Linked DNA regions of Homo sapiens: region 1 is linked to region 2. The links are contacts of gene promoters, found by promoter capture Hi-C in blood cells and fetal thymus (Javierre and others, 2016). All regions are on one chromosome and are shown on one strand. Each heading gives the region's core, a stretch centred on a gene start or on the middle of the fragment in contact. The rest is flanking DNA. Distances are from core to core; before and after follow the strand shown. Region 1 overlaps KLHL30 (kelch like family member 30). Region 2 holds the start of RAMP1 (receptor activity modifying protein 1).

Region 1 (6,029 bases), core at 3,480-5,979, 290 kb before region 2:
CTCTCTCCTTAAGCCATTGGCACATTCTCCATCCATACACATGCTTTCAGCTGGATCAACTGATGGCCCAACCAACTGGAGTAGTGGCCTGTATCCTTCTGTTTTCTTGCTATAAAGGAAAATGTGAGGCTGGGTAATTTACAAAGAAAAGAGGTTTATTTGGCTCACAGTTCTGCAGGATGTACAGGAAGCATAGTGCCAGCATCTGCTTCTGGTGAGGCCTCAGGAAGCTTCCACTCACGGTGGCAGGGGAAGGGGAGCAGGTGTGTCACACAGTGAGGGAGCAAGGGAGAGCAGGGGAGGTGTCAGGCTCTTTAACGATCAGCTCTCCGTGAACGCACCAGCGTTACTGCACCATGCCATGCCTGAGGGATCCGCCCCCATGATCTAAACGCCTCCCACCAGGCCCAACTCCAACACCAGCGATCAGACTCAACAGACTCAACATGAGATTCGGAGGGGACAGATCTCCAAGCTATGTCATGGTCTATACTGACTATGGAAAACTGTCAGGTGACCAGTCCATTTAATTACAGTCACATGAGGGTGTCAATGGCCTGATCCCAGCAACCACTGTCCCTGCCTGAATAGAGAAGATGCCAGATAATAAAAGGGGCCTGTCTGTGAGGTGTTGGAAAACTCAAGTCCGGTGGAAGTGGCTGGAAGCATGCCTAGGCCCCAGCTTACTTGGGGACCCGGGGGAGCTGAGATACAGTTGGCAGTGCTGGGCCTGGCTGAGGGCCCTGTGTGCTCACTGAAGGCTGAGGGGCCTCAGTTTACCCAGCATCCTCTATGGGAAAGACAACACGCACCTACCTGGAGGACATGAGCACATGGGGCCTGGAGGTGGGTTTCGCCCGCACACCCCTGTGGGCATTTGCACATGTTCCAAGGCTACGCGCTCCCCTTTCTAGAAGCCCATATTAGCCTCAAGCCTTCTAATGAGTCCTTGCTGTCCTGGATTTTGATGATGGAAGGGGATACCTTGGCTGCCCTATGGCTGTCGCTTGGTGAGTGAGTGCATTAATGTCCCTTCGTGCAAAGCTCTCAAGTGGGTGACGTGTGCCGGACCTTCTGGCCGCCGTCCTGGTGCCCTGGCCACCTTCTCCACCTGTTCTGTGTCCCCAGGTGGCCACTACAGCCTGTCAATGGCCTCTCTTCCCTCTGGGTTCTGGTTGGGCTTGGCCTGTAGGAGGCGCTAGTGGGAGACAGGGGGCAGGCCAGAGAGAGAGGGCAGATGGACTCTGCCACCTCCTCCCAGCTGGACAACAGGGGTGGTGGCTGCGTTCCCCCGCCAAGGCCCTCTCTCAGCAGCTCCCTGGAGTCTGCGTCTGCCCTTTCCCTTCTCCCAAGACGGGGTGGGGGGGGTGGCACTCCCACTGCTGCTGTCCTGGGATGCCTCTCCAGCCACTGGGCTCCCTTCACCCTGCCCACAGCATGGGGAGAGGCCGTCGTGAAACTCTCCTTAGCCACTCACCTCAATACCCAGCAGACGCCCCTTTCCTCCTGGTGCCCTGAAGGCTGCGATGGCCCCCTGAATCAGGAGCCCAGCTGATCGGACGAGGTGCACTTTGGCACCTCAAAGCTGGGAGCCAGGCCCTGGAGAGGCCCACTCCTTCCACCCGAGGACCGCCCATATTCCCATAGGGTGTGCAAGGGTGGACAGCAGGCGTTGCTCTGGCACGCCGCCCTTTTGGCTACTTTGTGATCAAAGCCAGCCTATTTTGACATTTCATGTCTTCAGTTTTATTTTTATTTATTTTAAAATATTCTTGCAGAAATGGTTTACATGGAGGCTTTGTTTTTAAACAGCCCTTTGGCTGACCTCCTTCCATCACTGTCTAGAAAACATTTCAGATTTCCACATGGAAACAGAGCCCAGGGCCCCAGAAACCCTCACCCTTGCTTCATCCAATCCATCTGCCACCGAAGGTCTCCTCAGCTCTGGGCTCTTGTTCCTTTGGTAGCACCCAGAGGCCCCACTCTGTCTGGCCCTCCAGGGTCAACTCACTTCTCCCACACCTTGTAATCCCAGCACTTTGGGAGGCTGAGGCGGGCGGATCACCTGAGGTCAGGAGTTCAAGACCAGCCTGGTCAACATGGTGAAACCCTGTTTCTACTAAAAATACAAAAATTAGTCAGGCGTGGTGGCGAGTGCCTGTAATCCCAGCTACTTGAGAGGCTAAGGCAGGAGAATCTCTTGAACCCGGGAGGTGGAGGTTGCAGTGAGCCAAGATCTCAGCATTGCACTCCAGCCTGGACGACAAGAGCGAGACTCCGTCTCAAAAAAAAAAAAAAAAAAAAAAAAAAGCTATGAGAGGCAGGTCTGGGAGCAAAGCAGATCCCTACCTACAGAAGCTCAAGAGGCTCAGGGGTTTCCGTCCTCAGAACCCAAGGATGTCAGAGGCCCCTCTGGTCCCCAGGGGCGGGGGGTGTTAAGGAGGAACCCAGGGGCTGGTCCTGGAGAGGAAGCCTGGATCCGGCGGGAGACCGGAGCTGCCCAGGGCCTCTGGGGCAACACCAGGGCCTGTGCCTGGCCGGGCCCGACTCCTGACTTCTAGCCCCATGTCCCAGGGCGGAGCCTGTGACAGGAGGGACACGCCATTGGGCACCCAGGGAGAGTCCTTCATTGTCTCCTTAGCTGCAAAGGTGGGTGCCTCATTCAGGATGAGGGAGAAGCCACTCGGAGCCTGAGCCAGCCGGAGTCGGGCTGCATGCTGGCAGGGGCCCATCGGATGCTACCCCTCACCCTCAGGAGGCTGCCACCAATGCACCCAAGAGTCGTCCCCTGGTGGGAAATTCCATTCTAATGAAGAGCCTTTGTTCTGACACACAGAGACGGAGGCAATCCCTTCTGAGAGCAAAACTGCTCACCTCCCTGGGACCCTCCAGCCCCGCCCCACGCCCTGCCTCCCTCCTTCCTGGTGCCTCTGTGGGCACCGCCCTCTGGGTGCAAGAGATGGGTGGGGGCCTCCTTTGTCCACAGAAGCAGAAACACAGCACCAACATGCAAAGCCTGAGTGGGGACCCAAAGCCCACACAGCCAGCCCCGTGTGTGGTGGACGCGGAGCTTGAAGCCCAGAGAGGGGAGGTGGCTGGCCACAGTTACGCTGCCGTGAGCTGGGCAGAAGCAGGCCCACGAGGACCTGGTGCTGATCCCATCTCCGGGGCCTGCCTTCCCCAGCAGCCTCAGCTTTCTGGGACGCTCCGTGTTCACCCCACATTCATGCAACTGCTCCAAAAGCCCCTGCTGGGGTCCAGGGGCAGGAGTGGGGCTCGCAAGCTCTGGGAATGCTGGCCCGGCCCCCGGCTCCCCTCTCTGAGGTCTCGGGAACCCCAGGGGCAGCAGAGCTTCCTGTCCCTGTTATGCCAGCGTCTGGCACTCAGGCCCTTGTCACTGCTCAGCTCAGAGTTTAGTGTGGTGGCCACAGAGACCAAGGCTGTGTCCTCCAAGCCATGCCGTCTGATCACCCCTGGTGGCCTGAGCGCAGCTTGGAAGGAATGGTAGCTCCGAGTGAACAAATAAGCGAAAATGAAAGGGGCCGTTCCACAGGCTGATGAGGGGCCGCTGTGGGGACTCCTCCCCGGGGACCCTGGCCCTGGTTTAGTGCTCCTGGGTGGGGCCGGAGGGCTGGGTCCACTTGGAGACATCCAGGAAGACGGTGGAGGCCCCGTGGTAGAGCCAGAGCCGGGGCAGGGCGCCGTGGCGGGTCCAGGTGTCCCGAACCGTGTCGTAGGCCTCCATCTCCACGTGGTAGTCACCTTCCATGCCCTGCCAGCGGCCGCCCGTCACGTACAGCGCATCACCCAGTGGCACCAGCGCGCCATTCTCATGCAGGCTGTGCTGTGACTGCACCTGTGCACGGTCAGCGGGTTAGCGTCCGGTGGGCGGGAGCTGGAGAGCAGGGCTGAGGGTGCCCTCAGCAGGGTCGGGGGAGTGGCAGAGAGGACAGCCAGCCACCTGGCCCAGATCCCCTCCAGGGCATGAGCGCAGAGTCCCTGGGCAGCCCACCGCAGCCCCTCCAGCCTCCTCAGACTCTTCTTTTGGTGGGGAGGTCCCTTTCCCTCTCTGACCCTCAGCCCTTGGGATGACACTTCCAACCCCTGCAGTCAGAGGGGGCCCTGAGGCCTCCCGGGGAGGTCCGGGCTGACTCGAGGCCTCACTGAGGCTTCGCTGTCTCACAGGAGACAGGTGTGGCTCAGCCCTGGCAGACAATCAGGAAAAGCCTAGACAAGCCCACCGTGGGTTCCCTTGCCTCACCCCTGCACCCCCTGCTCAGTCTATGGCCTTGGGAGTGCCCCTGGGAGGGGTTGTGGGGTGAGGGCGGGTGGCTTTCCAGAGGCTGGAGAGAGCTGCGGCTTCAGGAAGAGCCCGGGCGGGTGGGAAGCGGGAGGCCGGTCTGTGGCCTCCAGATGAAGACAGGGAAGAGGTGAGGACCCAGGCCTGGAGAGGGTAAGGCAGAGCCCTGCTGTGCTGGGACCTGAGCCTGGGACAGTGGCCTGGGCTGGAGGAAGGCCTGGCTGTGGCCCAGCTGGGAGGGCCCAGGCAGACACGCTAGCCTGGCAGGGCCCACCCTGCACCTGTCTCACCGCTGTAATGGGGGCCCTGGGTCAGCTGAGCAGTGACGCCAGGGGACAGCTGTGGGCAGCAGGATTGCAGAAGTCCTGCTGTCACCAGGCCAGCAGCCTGCAGGGGGGCTGCAGGAAGGAGTTCCACCTTCTCAGCCTGCAGGGACTGGGAGTCTTGGGGCAGGTGGGCAGGTCCAGGGCATCTGGCTTGGTGCCAGGACCCATCCCCAACTTCCTGGGCACTGTCCCCTTCACCAGGGAGGCCGCCCAGAGGCTCACCTCCCTCCCCTTCCTCAGGCACTGATGGTCAAAGAGTGGGCCATGGTGGGATGGCACTGAGGACAACAGGAAAGCCCCCAGGCTGGTGGCTCTCACCTCACCCTCAGCTCAGGAACCCCCTCCCCAACTTGGCCACCCTGGGGCAGAGGATGCCCTCCCTCCTGGTCCCTATAGTACCCTCCGGCTGAACCTGGCTTTTCTCCCTGAGAAGGAGGACAGGCCACTCCTCTGTAGGAAGCTGGGTGTGCAGGGACAGAGCACCAGTGGCCGGCAACCCAAATCGCGTTCTCCCACCATCACCGTCACCCCTGTCCTCAAGGGGACTCGGGCCAGGGCACTATTGTCACCTTGTAGCCTGGGGGGATCTCAGCCTGCGCCACCCACTTTATTGTGGGCCCTCTGTGGGCACCCCAGCCTGCACCACCCCCTTCATTGTGGGCCCTCTGTGGGCACCCCAGCCTGCGCCACCCTCTTCACTGTGGGCCCTCTGTGGGCACCCCAGCCTGCGCCACCCCCTTCACTGTGGGCCCTCTGTGGGCACCCCAGCCTGCGCTGTCCCCTTCGCAGTGGGCCCTCTGTGGCACCCCATCCCTCACTTCCCAGGCTGGCTCTCTGATGTCAGGAGTCCTGGGCAGGGGCTCACACATGTTGGGGGAGGGGGCGGCCCACCTTCTGCCACAGGTTGGCCCCGGGGTCGTACACGTAGACCTTCTTGGTGTTGTCCCCAATGAGGTAGAGCTCCCCGTGCAGTGCAGCACAGCGAGGCGAGGACAGGTACTTGGGCAGGAAGGGCGAGGCGATCACACTCCACGCATCTGTGGGGGGCACGGGCACTGGCCACCGTCACCAGGGTTGCCAGAGCGGGCACTAGCACTGTGCCCCACTCTGAGGGACCCTGGACTCAGTGCCTCTCTGAACCTCAGTGAACCTGTCTGTGAAATGGGAGTAGGTCCCTGCGGTGCAGCTGGGAGGGACCCACACCTGCCTCTCACCCAGCCTCGATCTTTCCCTCTGGGGACAGTGACCCCTCACAAGGCTGCAGCATAGGTGAGGGGCCTGTGGAGGGTGCAGGGGTCCCTCAGGACTCTCCCTGTGGTGGGGGTGCTTTGGCCTGGCTGCCGCCCCACCCACCCCACCCTGACTGGGGACTGCTGGGGGCCCCTCCCTGCCCAGCCCCCAAC
Region 2 (6,269 bases), core at 3,445-5,944:
CGCATGGTTGGGCAAATCACTGACTTTTCTCCTCCCAGGTGGTGTCAGACTCAAGACAGTCCTTCCTGAGACTCGTGTGGGGATACGTGGTCCGGGAGAACAGGGGGCAGGGCTTCCTGGGCAAGCTGTACCCCACCCCCTGGAGTGAGCTGGCCCAGGCCACGGGCCAGGTCACTCTGCCTCCCCTCCTGCCCCCGTGGTTTCCCAGAACTCTCAGCTAATTCAGGAGCTGCTTCCCCGGAGCCAAGGCCTGGGGGCCTGAACATGGCATGTGTGGGGGTGACACTAACGTACCCTGAGGGTCTGCTGGGGGCACAGAGGAAGACCCCCTGTCCCTGGGGTGGTGGGTGGGGTGGGGGTTCTGGGAGGCTGGGCAGTTGTCCCCGTGAGGGGTGGAGGTGGTGCTGACCCTGGCGGAGGGCACAGTGGACAGCCGGGGCCTGGGGTTTTGGGATTCTGGTTCTCGGTCCCAGAGAATCCACCATGTGACTGCACATGGGAGGGAGTGAAGCACTCTCGGAGCACGGGGAGGAGTCACCGAGAGAGCTGAGAACGTAGAGTCGGGGGGCCTGTGACTCAGGCCCATAGCCCTGCACTCCTGCCACATCTGGCTAGTGTGTCCCCCTGGACCCTGCTCCAACAAAGCCACCCAGAAGCCGTGATTTAAAAGATGGTTAAAGTGATGCCTTTCGGATGCCCCAGAAATTACTGAAATAAACCATCTTAGGAAAAAAATATTTTTCCTGAACAGAATAACATCATTCGGTGAAGTGAGTACGATTTTGTTTGGGCTGGGAGCCCTCCTATGGTGGCCGTGTTGACGCATCCTCCTCACTAAGGAGAAACAGGTCCTCCAGGAACATCACCCAGCTGAGAGTCCTCCTGTTCTGGAGCAGAGAGGACTGGGGACAAGGACATCCCTCCAGGGCTTCATATGTCTGCTGTGGGATGTGTCAGAGGTAGGCAGGGGGTATGGCAGGCTGGGAACTGAACAGTGCCCTGGCAGCACCGTCTCTGCCTCTTCATTTGCCACCAAGAAACTGGTGGGCTGGGGCAGTGGGCACATGGTCCAGCAAGTGCTGGAGCCACCAGGGCCACTGTAGCCCGGGCTCCCCTGTCCCCTTCCCAGCTCCCACTGTCTTCCTGGCTGCAGCACCTCTTCTTTCAGGAGGCCTCCCTGGGTCCCCAGTGGAGGAGGAGGCTCTTGGGCAGGATTCCCACAGTCCCCCAGGTACGCCATTCTCGGAGCCCCCTGAGCCTGCCGTCCCTGCAAGGGACAGACACCCATCTCAAACGTTATGGGTCACATGATGGAAATGTGTACCCCATGAGCTCGATCTAGGGGCTCAAAAGGCTTCAGGAGTGCTCTATGTCATGGACAGGTACTCCCCCATGGCTCACAGGGTAGACTGTGGCAGCCCCACTCAGATCCAGCCTGGAGGAAAGACGCAGCTTTTCCCCGTGGTTCCAGCAGAACACTGACTGTCCAGCCTGCGGCCAGTCTCCTCCCTGGGACCATCTGGATGGCCAGGCCTGGCTCAGAGACCACTGAGGGCCAGCCCACCATACCACAAAGACCGTCAGGAAAGAGGGGTTCTAGGCCTGAGTTGGGGGTGGGGGCACTGGCAGGGGCACTGGCAGGCAAGCCCGAGGGGCTTCACTCTCTGGGCTCAGCATTTCCGCTGGAATTCACACTACACATGGCACCTGCATCACACAGTCAGCCAGACGCCAGTTGTAACTGATTAGAAGCTATGAAATGGGCGCATTCTGGGGAAAAAAATCAGGACAGACTTTTCCAACTAGCCTTAACTAAAGATTCCACCTAAAACATTTCCCGGAGCTGAATCTACCATTTGCACTGTGGATATAAATGTTTCTCAACAGCCCTGGCCTCGGACTGGTAATAAGCACGCTGACAGGCATGCGCCTGTGGAAGGAAGACAAAAATCCAGAAATTTCTTCCTGCAGCTAGACACACAGAGAGGGTAAACAAACACACTGAGTTGATTAACAAATAAGAATCCTTCAGATTTGGACTTTGGCATGAGAACTGTGTCCAGATTTAAAACCGCATGGCAATCTGAAGCAGTCACATAGCATTTCCTGTGATGTCCCTGTCATTCCAATTCTACTTGTATTTATATAAAGTCATACATTTCAATTAATGTTGCAGCCATTAAAAAAACCCCTGGCTCCCACGTGACAGCCAAGGAAGGCATGCGTTTCCTAGGACAGGTGACTGAGTTCATGTGTGACAGCACCAGCCAGCATTCCCTGAGTGAAGATGGACTCGAAAAACCAGGGGCTTCTAACGCATCCTTCTTTCCTGGTTAACGAACAGCTTTTCGGTGTCTATACACAAACTTTTCAGAATGCATGTAGAGTCTCCAGTAAACAGAAGAGTACACAGGATGCTCAGAGGGAAAAGAACTATATATGGATCCTAAGTTTTTTTTTTTTTTGAGACGGAGTTTCACTCTTATCACCCAGGCTGGAGTGCAGTGGCATGATCTCAGCTCACTGCAACCTCTGCCTTCTGAGTTCAAGCGATTCTCCTGCCTCAGCCTCCCAAGTAGCCGGGATTATAGGTGCCTGCCACCATGCCTGCCTAATTTTTTTTGTATTTTTAGTAGAGACGGGGTTTCACCATGTTGGCCAGGCTGGTCTTGAATTCCTCACCTCAGGCGATTCACCCACCTCAGCCTCCCAAAGTGCTGGGATTACAGGCGTGAGTCACCATGCCTGGCCGGATTATGAGATTCTTAATAACTACCTAAGACAAATAGCTTGATTGTAAAATTGTCACAGATAAGTTCTTAAACCTGTAAACTAGAGTACTTAAAAAAATTCCACATTGCCATTCTTGGTAGCAAAATCTTCATCACCAAGGAGACCTGGCTAGTGCTACAGCTTGGGAAGGAAACAGCCTGTGCTCAGTAATTCTACTAATTACAGCTGGGCTCCAATGACATTAATTTACTGATAACCTCATAAAGTTTTGTTTGTTCTTCCAAGAGATAACATTAGCCAGGCCACTCAAAATAACGTTAAAATTACAGGACTTTGGACTTTCGGCAGAACATGAATAGTTTTCTCGGTAAACAAGGAAGGTCTTTATATGTGATCGTGACATAGTGTTTTATTTACACAAGCTTTAGAGGGTTCAGCCTCTGGACACTAGTAAAGAACGTTTATTTATTTGGTTATTTATGTAAAAAATATTCCACAACCCAGCTCTCTGCCTTGCTAACAAAGAAATGTTTGTTTCTTAGTAAATGAAAACAGTGAAGGCCATGTCAAGCCAAATGGAGAGAATAAAATTACTGCGAGATTCTGCTTTCCACGTAACTTCAGCCAAAACTCTAAAGTGGCAAGATCCGCTTTCAGATTATATTATATCGGCCTCTGAGGATTCTATGCAGATCTGCCACCCCTTGGAGAGGTTTACAAATAGGGAACAGAAATCCATGGCTCCCAAGAAGCCCTGGCCCCTCTCCTCGCTGGGCCACGAACCACTCCCCCAGCTACAACAGCGCCGGTGGTCCCTGCTTGCCCAGTGCCAGCGCCAAAGAGGTCTTGTGCGGCAGGTGCCTCTGACCAACATCACTGTTTCCGGGGAAAGGCCACACATACCAGAAACAACTGCTCCGGCCTTCCCAGGGACACTGGGTTCTCCCACGCCAGTAACCTATTCACAGTTTCCGTTAAAAGGTAGCTAAATACACGGAATAATGCAATAGCCAAAGCGGTTTAGAAGGGGCTTGAGTTAGCATTTTAGGAACACATTACAGACAAGGGAAGTGAACAGCACCGTTTCTTGCCGAGTGTGTGGCCAGTTCCTGTGGCCATGAGGCTGCCGCTAATCTCCACTTCTCCCTCCAAGTGGAAAGCCAAACGTGTTCCACCACTTCACCAAGGGACCCGTCCTTCTTTAAATTTCTATTAGCCAAAAGTGCCAAGTTAACAAGCAAACCAAAAGAAAAAAGAAAAAAAGCGATGGAAGTGTCCCGAAAAGGGCTGGCCTCATTTCTGCAAAAGACGTGATTTGCAAACAAGCAACTGCTGCAGGCGACAGATTGTCAGTGTTGACTAATTTCCATACAAACCGGCTGTGGTTCTGATTCCCGAACACTGCGTCTTCTGCAAGGTGCCCGTCTGCAGGTTTTGCAACGCGGGACGGCCTAGGGAAGGGAGCCTGCGCTGGCAGTCACCGCGGCGCACAGCCTGAGAAACGAGGTGCGGGGCTGGGGAACCCCGCGTCCTGTTTTTCCTTCTGAAAACTAGTTCTCCAGTGTGCAGGGCTGACTCACCCCACGCTTTCCAGAATGCCCGCTCTCCGACGTCCCCAAAGCCGTCCCTTCCCCGGCGAGAAGCGCAACACCGGTCCGCGCCCTCCGCCTCCCCTGTGCCCTGGGGCCTCCCGCCTGGAACCGGGGCGGCCCGCGTTCAAGGGCAGCGGATCTGTGCGCCCGCGGCGCCCGCCCCCACCCGCTCCCACCCGCTCCCACCCGCTCCCCTCCTCTCCCCTAGAGGACACCGGCTGGCCAGGGGAAGGGAGCTCGGCCGGGACCCCTGGACCTACTCACCCAGGAGCAGCCAGAGGCCGCGCCGCGGGAGGCGGCACAGGGCCCGGGCCATGGTGCACAGCGGTGCCGAGTCGAGTCCGCTCGCCACGCGCCCCGCTGAGGACTGAGCCCGCCGCGGCGCGGGCCCGGAGGAGACGCGCCGGGGGCGGGAGCGGGCGCGGGAGCGGTGGGAGGCGGCGGCCGCGCGGCCCGGCCCACTGCGGCTCCCCGCGTGGGTGCCAGGGCCGGGGGCGCCCAGGGCCGGTAAAACTTTGCAGGGGGGCCGCGCGGGCGTCTCCAGGCCCCTCCCGGGGGGCGGCACACTTGGGGTCCCAGGAAGGCCTCCTGAAATGTTCTCCGAGCAAATAAACACTTTTTAAACTAGGGAGGGTCTCCTAGACGACTCAGCGTGAGGGGCACCTTGGTCTCCACCTGGGGATCTTCCCCTCCTCCTCCTCCGAGGTTCTGGGCGTTCCTGCCTGGTGTTTGCCTTGCAAAAGGCTAAGATCTCCCAGCCTTATCTACCTCTCCGCCCAGGTGCAGGCGCTGGGGAGCGTGGGGGGCAAAACTCGCCACCGCGCCTGGCGAGACCCGTAGTAACCCAAAATGGCGCACACTTACCAGGCCCTGGAATGCTGCTCCAGATCTGCAGGATGAGTGGGTGGGCAGAGGCGGGGACAGCACGGCAGGTGAACAGAAGCCGTGGGGCTGGAGGAACAGGGCTCTTTGGGGGGATTGAGATGGCCTGGGAGTCTTGCTGTTGATGGGTAGGTAGCGAGAGCCTGGCAGGAGGTTGTGAGGGCCTGGCCACAGAGTCTTGAGATGAGGTTTGCTTTGGTGGCACTCTGGCAGCTGCATGGAAAACTGATGGGGGATCTTGGGTACATTCGTTTATGTAAAGTGGTGAGAGGAGGGCGCTCTGGAGATGGGCCGGGGAAGCCTGCGGAGGAGCAGGTTTTGGGAGGCACAGGCCTGGCCTCTCGGCATTACTGGTGGCTGGATTTCACTTGCAGTGGTTCCTTCTTGTATTATCCTGTTCCGAGAACTCTTAGCAACAGTAAATTTATACTTGTGCTAAGGAATGCACCACTGCCCTTGGAGGGGGAAGAATCACCACCCTGGTGCTGCGGCCACAGCTGTCTCTTTTGTGGTGGAAGCTGCAAGCGCACAGCATTGCTGAGTGACCATCGTTTTCTCCTAGGAAAGGGAACAGTCTGTGGCTGAGAGGCTGCTGCCACCTGCAGTAAGCTCAGAGAAGGGGAGACAGCTGACAGCGAGGTCATCCACTGGTTCTTCTAACACAGGCTGGGAGGGCACTCAGGGCCAGCATGCCTACCACCTGTGCAGGGGCCCCAAGTGTTCTGAGAGTGAGGGGTGAGATGGTGGGGGAGGGCACACATTCTCTTGACTTGATTAGCCCTTGTTCTTGAACCCTAGGAGATACACCCCATTGGGTGGCCTGGCATCCCTACTTTCTTCATTTAACAGACATTTGTGTCCCTATGTGCAAGACACTGTTAGATCGACAAGCCCTGCCCTTCAATTGGTGAATCTAGGGGGTGACCTCTAAGACTCTCAATAACATGAGCGCCACAATACAGGAGCCACCCGGAACAAGGGACACTCGCCTCAGCTGCAGTGCAAGTAAGGAGACAAAGGATTCTGGACAAAATGCAGCCCAGGCAGTCCTGAGGGCTGGGT

Evidence for each region. Contacts are between HindIII fragments. The CHiCAGO score rates a contact against its expected background, and 5 or more counts as called.
Region 1: a fragment that was not itself captured here is called in contact with the fragment with the promoter of RAMP1 in region 2 in 6 of 17 cell types (megakaryocytes, erythroblasts, M0 macrophages and 3 more); the score reaches 11.8 in megakaryocytes.

The regions. Positions count from the first base shown.
Region 1 is chr2:238,148,641-238,154,669 of GRCh38, reverse strand. It overlaps KLHL30 (kelch like family member 30), which reads right to left. Exons shown (of 8, transcript NM_198582.4): 7 at 5,518-5,663; 8 at 1,723-3,856. The coding sequence ends at 3,605. Among named protein-coding and RNA genes, the nearest start is that of ERFE, 7.3 kb to the left of the region's middle. RefSeq lists an enhancer at 889-1,388. The HindIII fragment of the contact is 8,993 bases long and covers 233-6,029 here.
Region 2 is chr2:237,858,048-237,864,316 of GRCh38, reverse strand. RAMP1 (receptor activity modifying protein 1) reads right to left here and starts at 4,694. Exons shown (of 3, transcript NM_005855.4): 1 at 4,590-4,694. The coding sequence starts at 4,641. RefSeq lists enhancers at 5,307-6,093, 6,094-6,269. The HindIII fragment of the contact is 3,458 bases long and covers 3,158-6,269 here.